2 separate regions of the Homo sapiens genome follow, and region 1 is linked to region 2. The links are contacts of gene promoters, found by promoter capture Hi-C in blood cells and fetal thymus (Javierre and others, 2016). All regions are on one chromosome and are shown on one strand. Each heading gives the region's core, a stretch centred on a gene start or on the middle of the fragment in contact. The rest is flanking DNA. Distances are from core to core; before and after follow the strand shown.

Region 1 (5,628 bases), core at 1,371-3,870, 2.5 Mb after region 2:
CTGTAGTTTTAATGTTCAAGGAGAGTTCAACATCCGGAATCTTTATTTTTCTTTTTTCCTTTTCAAAGTGTTTCCTCTGCTACCAAACAAACAAAACTCCTTAACAAAAACTTTAAATGCTTCTGTTGACAAGTCCTTAAAGGAAAACACTTGGGATTGGAGAAGGCATCTCTTAGGGAATGTTAATAAATTCAAACTTGGAAGAATTCAAATCAAGTCTAAGGATTTTTTTGTACTGGTTATTAAGCCTTATTCCTCTGTATTTCAGTAGCAGTCTGCTTATTGTTACTTGTTCATTAAGCCAGCTTTGGGTTCAGACATATCAAATAGGCTTAAAGTTCCTACTGTGTGCCAAATAGACAAAAGATTGCTCAAGTCCTAAGAAGGAAATAAAAGACTGCAGGTATAAAGTAAGAGAGGGGGCCGGGTGCAGTGGCTCACGCCTATAATCCCAGCACTTTGGGAAGCCGAGGCGGGCAGATCACAAGGTCAGGAGTTTGAGACCAGCCTGGCCAACATGGCGAAACCCTCTCTCTACTAAAAATACAAAAAAAAGTTAGCTGGGCATGGTGACGGGTGCCTGTAATCCCAGCTACTTGGGAGGCTGAGGCAGGAGAATCGCTTGAACCCGGGAGGCAGAGAGGTTGCAGTGAGCCGAGATCATGCCATTGCACTCCAGCCTGGGTGGGTGGCAAGAGCAAGACTCTGTCTCAAAAAAAAAAACAAAAAAAGTAAAAGAGAGGGGACCTTTGATAGTGTAATCAGAAAAGGGAAGACCTGAAGGAAGAGAATGGGCCAGCCTTAAAAAGAGTTTACTACATAAGATATTACAAATAGCAAAGCCAGATAGTTATTAATAGAACTTGGTGCACTTAATGGGAAGGAAGACAAGGAAAATGTGGAGTCCCATGTTAGGCAGTAAAAAGTGGGACTGCACAAAACTGTGTAGTAAGAAATTTGACTTTACCCAGAGGTGGAAAGCCATTGAAAGTTTCTCAAATAGAATGCATTCTCTCAAAATAATTGGTAAGGAGTTGTGGAATATAGGCTGGAAGCAAGAATTGAACACATATTGGTCCATATAAAATGTAATGGTTGCATTTTAGATAGAAATAGACATATTTAAGAGAGATTTGGGCCTCAAACCAATAGAACTTTTTGATGGATTAGAAATGGAGTTGGAGCTGAGGAATGGTGTTAGAGAATGAAGGATGACTCCTAAGTTTCTGGATTGAGCAGTTAGGTGGTATGTGGTACTACTCACTAAGATTGGGAATACAAATAAAGAGCTCTGTTTTGAACATCTTATATTTGAGATCCTTATTGAATTCAAGTGAAAAGACTGAGAAGAGAGTTAACCTCTGTGAGTTTATAATCCAGAGAGGAGAGTCTAGACATAGAAATTTGGGATTTCTCAGCTTATATCAGGTGAAGTATTGAGACTGAAAAAGATACAGCATAGACAGACGACTGGTCCCAGGACTTAACTCCCGAGAGAAGAGAATTTAGGGCAGAACTATTGTTCACTGATGAACCCAAACCCTTAGAACAGTACCTGCTTGGCACATGGTAGGCTCTTGATTTATTAAATGAATGGCTGAACTGAAAACCCTTGATGTTTAAAGGTTGGTGGAGGAGTGGCCTTGGGGTACAAGTAAAATCCCAAGAAAATGGTATTATGGAAGCCAAGGCTCCGAATGTCTCAAGGAGGAATAACCTCCTTGAAATATGTATTAAAGATGTGTTAATATGTATAAAAAATGGATAGTGGGCTAAGTAGTCTGGAAGATGAAAATAATAAACTTTTTTCTTTTCTCTTGTTTTTTTTTTCCTGAGTCTCTTTTTGCAGTCAACTTATCTTTGTGGCTAAAGGTACATTTCACAGTTCTGAAATCCAAAATGACCTGAAAATTGAAAAAAATTTTGGTAACTCATTTGGAATCAAAATCTTAACCTGAATCAATGTGAGGCTATTTATGATCTTTATTCCTCTGTGAATACCGTGAATATTCACACTTTTTTGCTGTAGAAATATTAATGTTTGATTATATCATGCCACCCAAACTCTAGGCTATTACATAATATATGGCAGGTGTACCATATTATCTCTACAAAATCTGAAAAAGTGTAAAATTTGAAACATATCTAATTTGAAGGAATATGGATAAGAGATTGTGGACCTTAGTAGACACTTCCATTCTGTTAGTTTCTTGAAGAGTGAGCAATTTGTAAAATTTTGCAGATAAATAATTCTTTACAGTAATTTCTTTGCATTGACAATTAAAGTTTGTTGTGTTCAAGGAACCACCTTGAGCTGATTTTTCTGAATGTTTATTTCATTGGTAAAGTATTTTTATGTACAGGTTGAATATCCTTTATCTGAATTCTTGGGACCAGAAGTATTTCAGATTTGGGGAGGTTTTGCAATATTTGTAATTATTTACCAGTTAGCATCCCTAATTCGAAAATCAAAAATTTGACATGCTCCAGTTAGCATTTCCTTGACTATTAAGTTGGTGCTCAAAACAGTTCAGATTTTGGAACATTTTGGATATCAAATTTTTGGATTAGGGATAATCTGTATTTTGATGCAAATCAGTAACATTTAAAATGCCCAAATTATTAATACATTACTGACCATTTAAATGATGAATAAAAATTGTAGGGTCTTAAAACTTCTTAGCCTTTTTATACTTTATGAAAAAGTGGGCTGGGCACAGTGGCTCACATCTGTAATCCCAGCACTTTGGGAGGCTGAGGCGGGCAGATCATCTGAGGTCAGGAGTTTGAGACAAGCCTGGCAAATATGGAGATACCCCGTCACTACTAAAAATACAAAAATTAGCCGGGTATGGTGGTGGGCGCTTGTAATCCCAGCTACTTGGGAGGCTGAGGCAGGAGAATTGCTTGAACCCCAGAGGTGGAGGTTGCAGTGAGCCAAGATCACATCACCGCACTCCAGCCTGGGTGACAAGAGCGAAACTCCATCTCAAAAAGAAAACAAAGTGGATGCCTACAAAGTAGCCATCTAGAGAATTGTGAGATACAGAATTAGTGGGAAAAAGTTGGAGATGGTTATTTTATAACGCCTTTATATTTTAGAAGAATTCTTTTTTTTTTTTTTTTTTGATACAGAGTCTCGCTCTGTCACCCAGGCTGGAGTGCAGTGGCACGATCTCGGCTCACTGCAACCTCCGCCTCCTGGGTTCAAGTGATTCTCCTGCCTCAGCCTCCTGAGCAGCTGGGACTACAGGCGCATGCCACCACACCTGGCTTTTTTTTTTGTATTTTTAGTAGAGACGGGGTTTCACAATGTTTGTCAGGAAGGTCTCGATCTCTTGACTTCGTGATCTGCCCGCCTCGGCCTCCCGAAGTACTGGGATTACGGGTGTGAGCCTCCACGCCCAGCTAGAAGAATTCTTGGTAAACCAAAAAATTATCTGTAGCTTGGCTGCCCTGTATACATGTATCATTTAGGTTCTTTGTGTATTCTTTGTGGGACTGGGGTCCCTAAATTTCAACAGAGAAACTTGTTGAAAGCTATGCGTATTCGTATACGATTTGAGGACCCTATTAGTAAAAAGTAAATTACTCTGATATATTAGGTACAGTTTCTTGTGTTCATTTTCTTTAAATTAACCAAGACCCTAAGCCTTTATTTAAAATATTTATATTTCATATTATGTCTTTTTTTCAGCCTTCACCCTGCCATTTCTAGTGAATCTGTAAGTGTCCTTGACATTCCCTGTTGTTATTACTTAAGAACATTAGCTGTGAGCTGCCCTGCCAGAGTTTGAATCTAGCTCCTCCACTTGCTGGCTATGTGACTTAGGCAATAATACCTGACTTGTCTGTTTCTCATCCTTCTTTACTATTATACAATAGGAATAATGTAATAATACCCACATCATAAGGTTATTGACAAGATTAAAAGATATGTGAAGTACTTAATAGTGCCTTCTAGTAAGCACTCAACAAGTGTTAATTACTGCTTTTTTTTTTTTTCAAACACACTTGCTCAGAAATTGCTACTGTAGTCTCCAATTATTGGGGCCTGGGGCTTTTCACTGGATTTTCAGTGTGCATCAAATAACTAGAGTATTTGATGTTATGATGTGGTAGATGTTAGAGACATTTCATTTGGGTAATTGTTACACAGAGGCAGATAGATGGAAGTTATTGTTTAGTTTGTGTCTTTTCTGTTTTAGGTGATATTGGAAATTATTATGGGCAGGGTCATCCCACGAAACCTCATAGAATCTGCATTTCTAGTGAAGACTAGACTTTCATTATTTTTACTTTAATGATTTCTTTAGTAGTGATAACTAAGAAATGCCTTCCCTTGTATTAATTTAATTACATGATGCTTTGTAATAACACTAGTGGGTTTTCCATATCTAAGAAATGATGAGACCAGGCTGCTTTCAAGGAACTATATATCCCTTGTATTGTCACCATGTAAGGTAGAGCTTTATGGTAGATTCTTTCTTAATAGGTAGTTTATTTTCTGCAATCATAGCCTCTTAATTATAATTGCAGAGGAATGTTGCAAAGGGCCATGGCCCTGCTTTGCTAAACTCTATATTGTTTCTTAGCCTTGTTGGCACCTGCATTAAAAAGGTGGCTTTCCCTTTAAAAGACTTTGTATATGAATTGTTTTCAGAAGAGAGCTGTGCTGAAAATGAAGTTAACTAAAATTAGAGGTGTGATACCAACAAAATCAAGTATTTATGTTATTAGAAGCATGGATTTTGTAAAAGCTGATTGTTTATCCCGTACTGTTATCAAATATGTAGGAGAGAGGACAAAAAAGTTTTTGGGGTTGTTTCCATTAAACAAACAAAAGGTGTATTTAGGGAGGACTTTGAAAGATTTAGTGGATAAATTGCATTTTTTATTCTAGCTTTTATTGTAATATATAAACCCGTGTTGAAATGATAGACTTCAAACCATTAAAATAGCTTGACTGTCCTGACCCTGTGGGGAATTAGTTCCAAGACTTCCACAGATAGCAAAATTCATGGGTGTTTAAGTTCCTTCAATAAACTGGTATAGTATTTGCATATAACCTATGTATATCTCCCCTTACACTTTAAGTCATCTCTAGATTACTCATAATACCTAATACAATGCAAATGCAGTGTAAATAGTTGTTACACTGTATGATTTAGGGGAAGATTACAAGGAAAAAAAGTCTCTACGTGTTTCCAGCAGACACCACCATCTATTTTTTAAAAATATTTTCAGTCTGCAGTTGATTGAATCCACAGATACAGAGGGTTGACTTTATATATTTGAGAGGCTTCTTGTTATTTACTATTATAGGAAACACTGGAGCTTTACCTAAAAGTATTAATTTTATTGAAATTTAGTTGATGAAAATCTGTGATTTTGTTATTTTCTCTTTTTTAAATCTTATGCATAAGTTTAAAGACATTGTGATATAAGATGCCGTTTAAAAAGACAGGCTAGGAATTACAACTTTTTAGTCATGAAGAATGAGACAGTATTTTTATTACCTTGAAAAATGTAATGCTGTGTCTTAGTGGAGCAAAACCTCATTTAGGACCTAAATTTCAGTTACCAAAACTTCCCTGATGGGCTTTAATATGGACACGGTATGTTTTA
Region 2 (6,034 bases), core at 1-2,500:
TTTTATTCAGATATTCTCTTGACGGCAAATTAGATGCAAGGAGCCATTCTAGATTTTCTTAGGGTACTGTATATCTGGAGAAAAGTCACCGATTTTTCCCTCACCCCAGCGGCCCTGAGAAAGCTCGGCCTCTCGGCTCCTCCCAAACGCCCCCAGCGCCAGCGGCAGACCTGCGACTGAGCCTTCAGATCCTTCAGGAGGTCCTGCACGTCCGACGCCTTGGCCTGGTTGCACGGCACCAGCGGCAGCTCCGCGGCGCAGCTGCGGTTGCGGCCGAGGCACAGGCGCTGCGCGAAGGCCGCGCTCCCGGTGGCCGCGCACTCGTAAAAGGCGCCCCCGAGCAGCGCCACGGCCACCCAGGTGAGGGGCGCGAGCGCGGCGGCCGCGCTGATTTGCGTGCACACCAGGGAGCCGCGCAGCGCCGATCCGCAACTCGCGCGGGCGCTGGAGCAGCATCCGGTGAGCAGGCGCCACGTGCGTGCGCTCAGCACGTAGCCCAGGAGGAAGAGCGCGAGCGCCGGCACCAGCAAGAAGACCAGGCCGTAGGGCAGGTTCCAGGCGGCGCTGCACGGGCACTGGAATGCCACGGCGGAGAAGATGCGCTCCCCGCCCGCCGTCAGCAGGGTCACCAGGCCGTAGCCCAAGGCGCTGTGGTGCTTGACGTGCAGGTCCAGCACCGCCCGAAACTTCTCCATGAGCCTCGTCCCCCGGGGCGTCGCGCACAGGCCCAGATCCTTCTGCCTCTTCGTTGTCCTGCTTGTCAAATGGTTTTGGTGGGATGGGGACCGGGGCTTTCCACTCTGCGAGAAGCAGCCTTTTTTTTTTTTTTTTTAAAGGGAAGAGGGCTTCTCAGACCTTCCTAAAGTTTCACTTTCTCATTTCAGCCACACCACCTCTGGTTAACAGAACCAGGCAAGCAAACACCCCCAGGACCTTGACTTCTCTGGCACCCACCCCATTCCAAAGGCAGAGGCACCAGTTATCTTCCTCCCCCAATTCAGGAACTCTGACAGAAGGTTGACCTTGTTCCTTTATTACCACCAATCTGACAACGAACCAGGAAACTAACCTTCTTGACCCACGGCCGCCAGTTGGAAAAACTGGGAAATACCAGATTTTCCTCTATTGCAGCCACCCTAGTTACTAAGCCAGATCACAGTAAAACCAAATAATTATCAAAAAACTGATTACTTACGGGAAACATTATTCAAGGACAAATTTCTGGTTCCTCTTCCATAAGCTAAATCAGCAAAGTCCAGCTCAAGTTCTGGTACTTCTATGATGGGCGGCACCCTTTCCATCTCCCTACCGGACAGAGCCACCAGCCTAGTTCACACTGACTCTTCTCTCCTCTGCCTGATCTCCTTCAGGACATTAGACCAAATATACTGTATTGATTTACTCGTCAATACAATGTTCTTTTCTTTCAGATATGTCATAACACTGTCAATGCCTGGAGGAGAGTAAAATTCTGACTCTGACCACCAAGCTGATCTGCACAGAAGGGGATACATGATTATTCAAAGAATGCTAGTTGAACCCAAAATTTCAAACTGCAGCTACATCTATCTAATGTTGTTTCCTCCACCTTCAGTTTTCTCAAGCAGCGTTGTTCTGACACAAACACTGTAACCACTTTTGTGATATTGAGCCTTACTCTGTGTGACTCCAGACTGAGCTGAGGTGTGCTTGAAAGAACATGGGCTTTGAAGTCAAGTGCATCTTGTCTGTGGTGTGTTTAACAAGTATGCCCCTCTGAGACACAGCATCCTTATTTGTAAAAGAAGGATAATAGTGCCCACTTTTCAAGATTACTGACATGAGTAGATTGAGTAGCATATGTAAAGTGCCTTTACATATAGGATATGTCTGTTAAATGAATGATCAGTGTGAGAGTTTTCCCCTTAAAATGCAATTTGGGGAATAGACAACAAATAATTACATTGTACATAACCTAAGAATCTTGATGAATACTGAATTTTGAATTTTAAACGAGGATCAATTCAGTGGATAGTATTAAGTGACTCAATGACTCTGCTACCTTAAGAGAATTGGTGTACACCTTAGCTGTCTGCTTCACCACAAGGAGAGTATCTGGATATGGAGCTTGGGTGGGCAGTTCACAATGAAATGGTTCTTATTGGTGCCCATCCACCAGGCTTGCCTTATTTTATCTGGAAAGAATAGGTAGCCCATGGAACCAAGTGAATTTTTAGAGAATGGACAAGAAATGTATTATTCTTTTCTTAGTCCAACTTGCCTTCTTAACTACTCCCTCTCCAACACCACCAGCAGGGTGCCTAGCGTAGTGCCAAAAGCTGTCATTCCATAGTGATGTGGTAAATAGACATCTTTTTTCTATGTGTTTAGGGGCCAGCCCCAGATGAGGGTCTTCATGGTCATGCAGGAAAGTTGGGGCCCTCTTCTCTGAGATTAGACCAGATACTGCTAGGCTTCCTGTCAACTTGCAGCAAAGTTGCGTGTTTGAAGCGAATCACTTCTGCTCTGACTGTTATCTTTGTAATTTGTCATCTCCCAAGATAAATTTCTTCCCCTGTGCCTTGAGTAACTCTCCTCTTACTGCTGGACTCTTCTTCACCTCTACCATAATACTCTAAGATGTGTCCTCTCTCGTCCACCCTTTCCCATATTCCATCATGCAGAAACATCACTATATCCACAACCTTTGTGCAGATGGCTTTATCCAAATCTCCCCTAACCGAAACCTAATAAAAATGCATCCTTCTGTCTTCTTGAGTGAGATTAATTTATTCTCCCACATCTCTCAAACCAAGAGGGATGGCTGGCATTTTCCTGGTTACCTGCTGATAGCCATACCAGGGTTTTACCACTGTGCTATAATAGTTTATCATCCACTGAGGCTCAATCTAATCAGCACCATCTCCTCCTTCACCTCATTCCTATGGTCTGTTTTCATTCCCTTCATTTTTTAAGACTCTAATGAAGTCCATCACCTTCTCTTCCCTGGCTTCTGTTATTTAGTCAAGGATTTGTTTGAAATATGTTTACTTACAGAAACTTTTATCTATCAGCCCCCTTCCCCAACTAGATTAATTCATTTGTTAACCAGTTATTAATTAGTTCATTTGTTCATTCAGTCATTCATTTAAATGTTTAATAAGTACTCAGAATATGTCAAGTACCTATCAAAAGTGCCTGGTATTGCTGGATACAACAAGGAAGAAGACACAGGTATCCTGCCGTCTTTGAACTTACAGTAGAGATGATATAGGAAATGGAGAGGAGGGGTCCTAAAGATTACGCACAGGATAAATTGGAGTTAGAGAGTGTCCTGAAAGAGCCTCTGTGAGAAACTGACATTTAATCTGAATGAGTCTGGAGTACAAAGGAGCTTGGTTAGAAAGAAGGCTAGAGTGATGGGAGCATTGAGAATGACAGGCAAGTTGGCACATCATGAGGCCAAAGCTGCAAGTGGAAGGTCAGGTTTAGGTGCTTCACAGACCAGAATATGTAGTCTGCAATTCTGCCTCTGAAACTTTCACAGACTGAGCTGCATCCTGACATATTGTCTTGTCAGCTTGTGTCTCTAAACACCACCTCCTGGGTTTGCTACTTCTGTGCTCTCCCAAACCCAACTCTCCCAGATGCAATGATCATTCAGAACTTAGTACAGGTTTCTATAATTGAGAGTCCAGGTTTTGCCTGCCAGCCTGAATGTTTCCCCAGCACTTGGTCTTGAGTCTAGTACCCTGCCATCCACTCCCACCACCACTGGATTGACTGGTTCTAGCTCTGGGTCTATTGAAGATTCCCAGCCCTCCATACCCAGGTCTGTTCTGAGAGGATATTGCTCAGAAGTTCAGCCCTTAGTGGAAATTGACTAACACCCTAATGGTGTGGAGAGGTAGACTAAATAATATTTTAAATGTCTTTACACTTTTGAAAGCCTGTGATTTGCTTCAGCTGTTAAGAAATGAGTAGTAGAATGTCATCGGTAAAGCCTGAGTCCTGTCCTCTTGCTCTCCTCCCTGGACAGTATGAGCTTCACCACTTGCTCCACCTTCTCCACCAACTACCATTCCCTGGGCTCTGTCCAGACACCCAGCTTCATCGCCCAGCTGGTCAGCAGTGCAGCCAGTGTCTATGCAGGCACCCAGGACTCTGGTTCCCGGATCTCTGTGTCCCGCTCCACCAGCTTCTGGGGCGGCATGGGATCCGGGGGCCTGGCTGCAGGGATGGCCAGGGGTCTGGCAGGGATAGCAGGCATCCAGAATGAGAAGGAGACCATGCAAAGCCTGAACGACTGTCTGGCCTCCTACCTGGACAGAGTGAGGAGCCTGGAGACCGAGAACTGGAAGCTGGAGAGCAAAATCCGGGAGCACCTGGGGAAGAAGGGACCCCAGGCCAGAGACTGGAGCCATTACTTCATGACCATCAGGACCTGAGGGCTCAGATCTTCACAAATACTGTGGACAATGCCCGCATCGTTCTGCAAATCAATGCCTGTTTTGCTGCTGATGACTTCAGTGTCAAGTATGAGACAGAGCTGCCCATGTGCCAGTCTGTGGAGAGCGACATCCATGGGGTCCACAAGGTCATTGATGACACCAATGTCACTCGGCTGCAGCTGGAGACAGAGATCGAGGCTCTCAAAAAGCAGCTGCTCTTCATGAAGAACCATGAAGAGGAAGTAAAGGCCTACAAGCCCAGACTGCCAGCTCTGGGCTGACCGTGGAGGTAGATGCCCCCAAATCTCAGGACCTTGCCAAGATCATGGAAGACATCTGGGCCCAATATGACGAGCTGGCTCGGAAGAACTAAGAGGAGCTGGACAAGTACTGGTCTCAGCAGATTGAGGTGAGCACCACAGTGGCCACCACTCAGTCCACCGAGGTTGGAGCTGCTGAGATGACGCTCACAGAGCTGAGATGTACAATCCATTCCTTGGAGATCGACCTGGACTCCATGAGAAATCTGAAGGCCGCTTGGAAAGCAGCCTGAGGGAGGTGGAGGCCTGCTATGCCCTGCAGATGGAACAGCTCAATGGGATCCTGCTGCACCTGGAGTCAGAGCTGGCACAGACCCAGGCAGAGGGACAGCACTAGGCCCAGCAGTACGAGGCCCTGCTGGACATCAAAGTCAAGCTGGAGACTCAGATTGCCACCTACCAATGCCTGCTGGAAGATGGCGAGGACTTCAATCTTGGTGATGCCCTGGACAACAGCAACTCCATGCAAACCATCCAAAAGACACCACCCGCCCAATAGTGGATGGCGAAGTGGTGTCTGAGACCAATGACACCAAAGTTCTGAGACATTAAGCCAGCAGAAGTAGGGGACCCTTCGAGGAGCAGGAGGCCAATAAAAAGTTCAGAGGTCAAAAATAAAAAATAAAAAGAAATGAGTAGTAGAGTCTCACATTAAGCACAGTGTAAAGCCAATGGTTATGGGTTCCCTTTGGTTTCCTTTAACTGTAGTACTTTTTCAGCACTATCATTTTCAATGTCAGGAATGGGTTTCAGAAACCACAGAACATTTCTTGGAAAAGGAACTTCTTGAAAGGAAATGCACATACACACTGTGAATCTGAAAGTGTCTTGCAATTGTCTTCATGTGTGCTAGTTCTCAAACATTGTTCTCTGCGGCTCTCATAAGAATACAGACTAATGGCATGACCCTGCTTGGAATATGACTGCTGGATTCTTATACAACATTAATCTTGGCCCCAAGACCCTCCAAAAAGAGTAAAATCAAATTAATATTCAAATATCTTAGGTAACATATGCAAGAAGAAATGCCAGATGCCAAATTAAAAAGTTAGTTTACAAAATCTGACACTCCTAGTCTTAAAGGGAATATCTTTCTGAATGTTAAAATTTGTGGATATATTGCTCATGTTAGATAACATATTTGAAAATCTGGAACATGCTGTTGTCTTCAGATATTTTAAACGTTTATAAAAGTTTTTTCCAATGGAAGTGTAAAGCAGAAGGAGGGAAAGATCAGACCCTTTCCTTGGCACAGAGATGTCATTTGTTAAATGGCAATCCCAT

Evidence for each region. The method cuts DNA at HindIII sites, captures the fragments that hold promoters and counts their contacts. A CHiCAGO score of 5 or more calls a contact.
Region 1: a fragment that was not itself captured here is called in contact with the fragment with the promoter of CALHM6 in region 2 in 1 of 17 cell types (neutrophils); the score reaches 6.4 in neutrophils.

Annotation. Positions count from the first base shown.
Region 1 is chr6:113,960,464-113,966,091 of GRCh38, reverse strand. The region is part of intron 1 of HDAC2 (histone deacetylase 2); the gene reads left to right. Among named protein-coding and RNA genes, the nearest start is that of HDAC2-AS2, 6.4 kb to the left of the region's middle. The HindIII fragment of the contact is 6,420 bases long and covers 1-5,628 here.
Region 2 is chr6:116,456,591-116,462,624 of GRCh38, reverse strand. CALHM6 (calcium homeostasis modulator family member 6) reads right to left here and starts at 1,250. Exons shown (of 3, transcript NM_001010919.3): 1 at 1,196-1,250; 2 at 171-753. The coding sequence starts at 695. It overlaps CALHM6-AS1 (CALHM6 antisense RNA 1), which reads left to right. Exons shown (of 2, transcript NR_174951.1): 2 at 1,431-2,147. It also overlaps the pseudogene KRT18P22. RefSeq lists a silencer at 185-264 and enhancers at 645-724, 735-844. The HindIII fragment of the contact is 9,761 bases long and covers 1-6,034 here.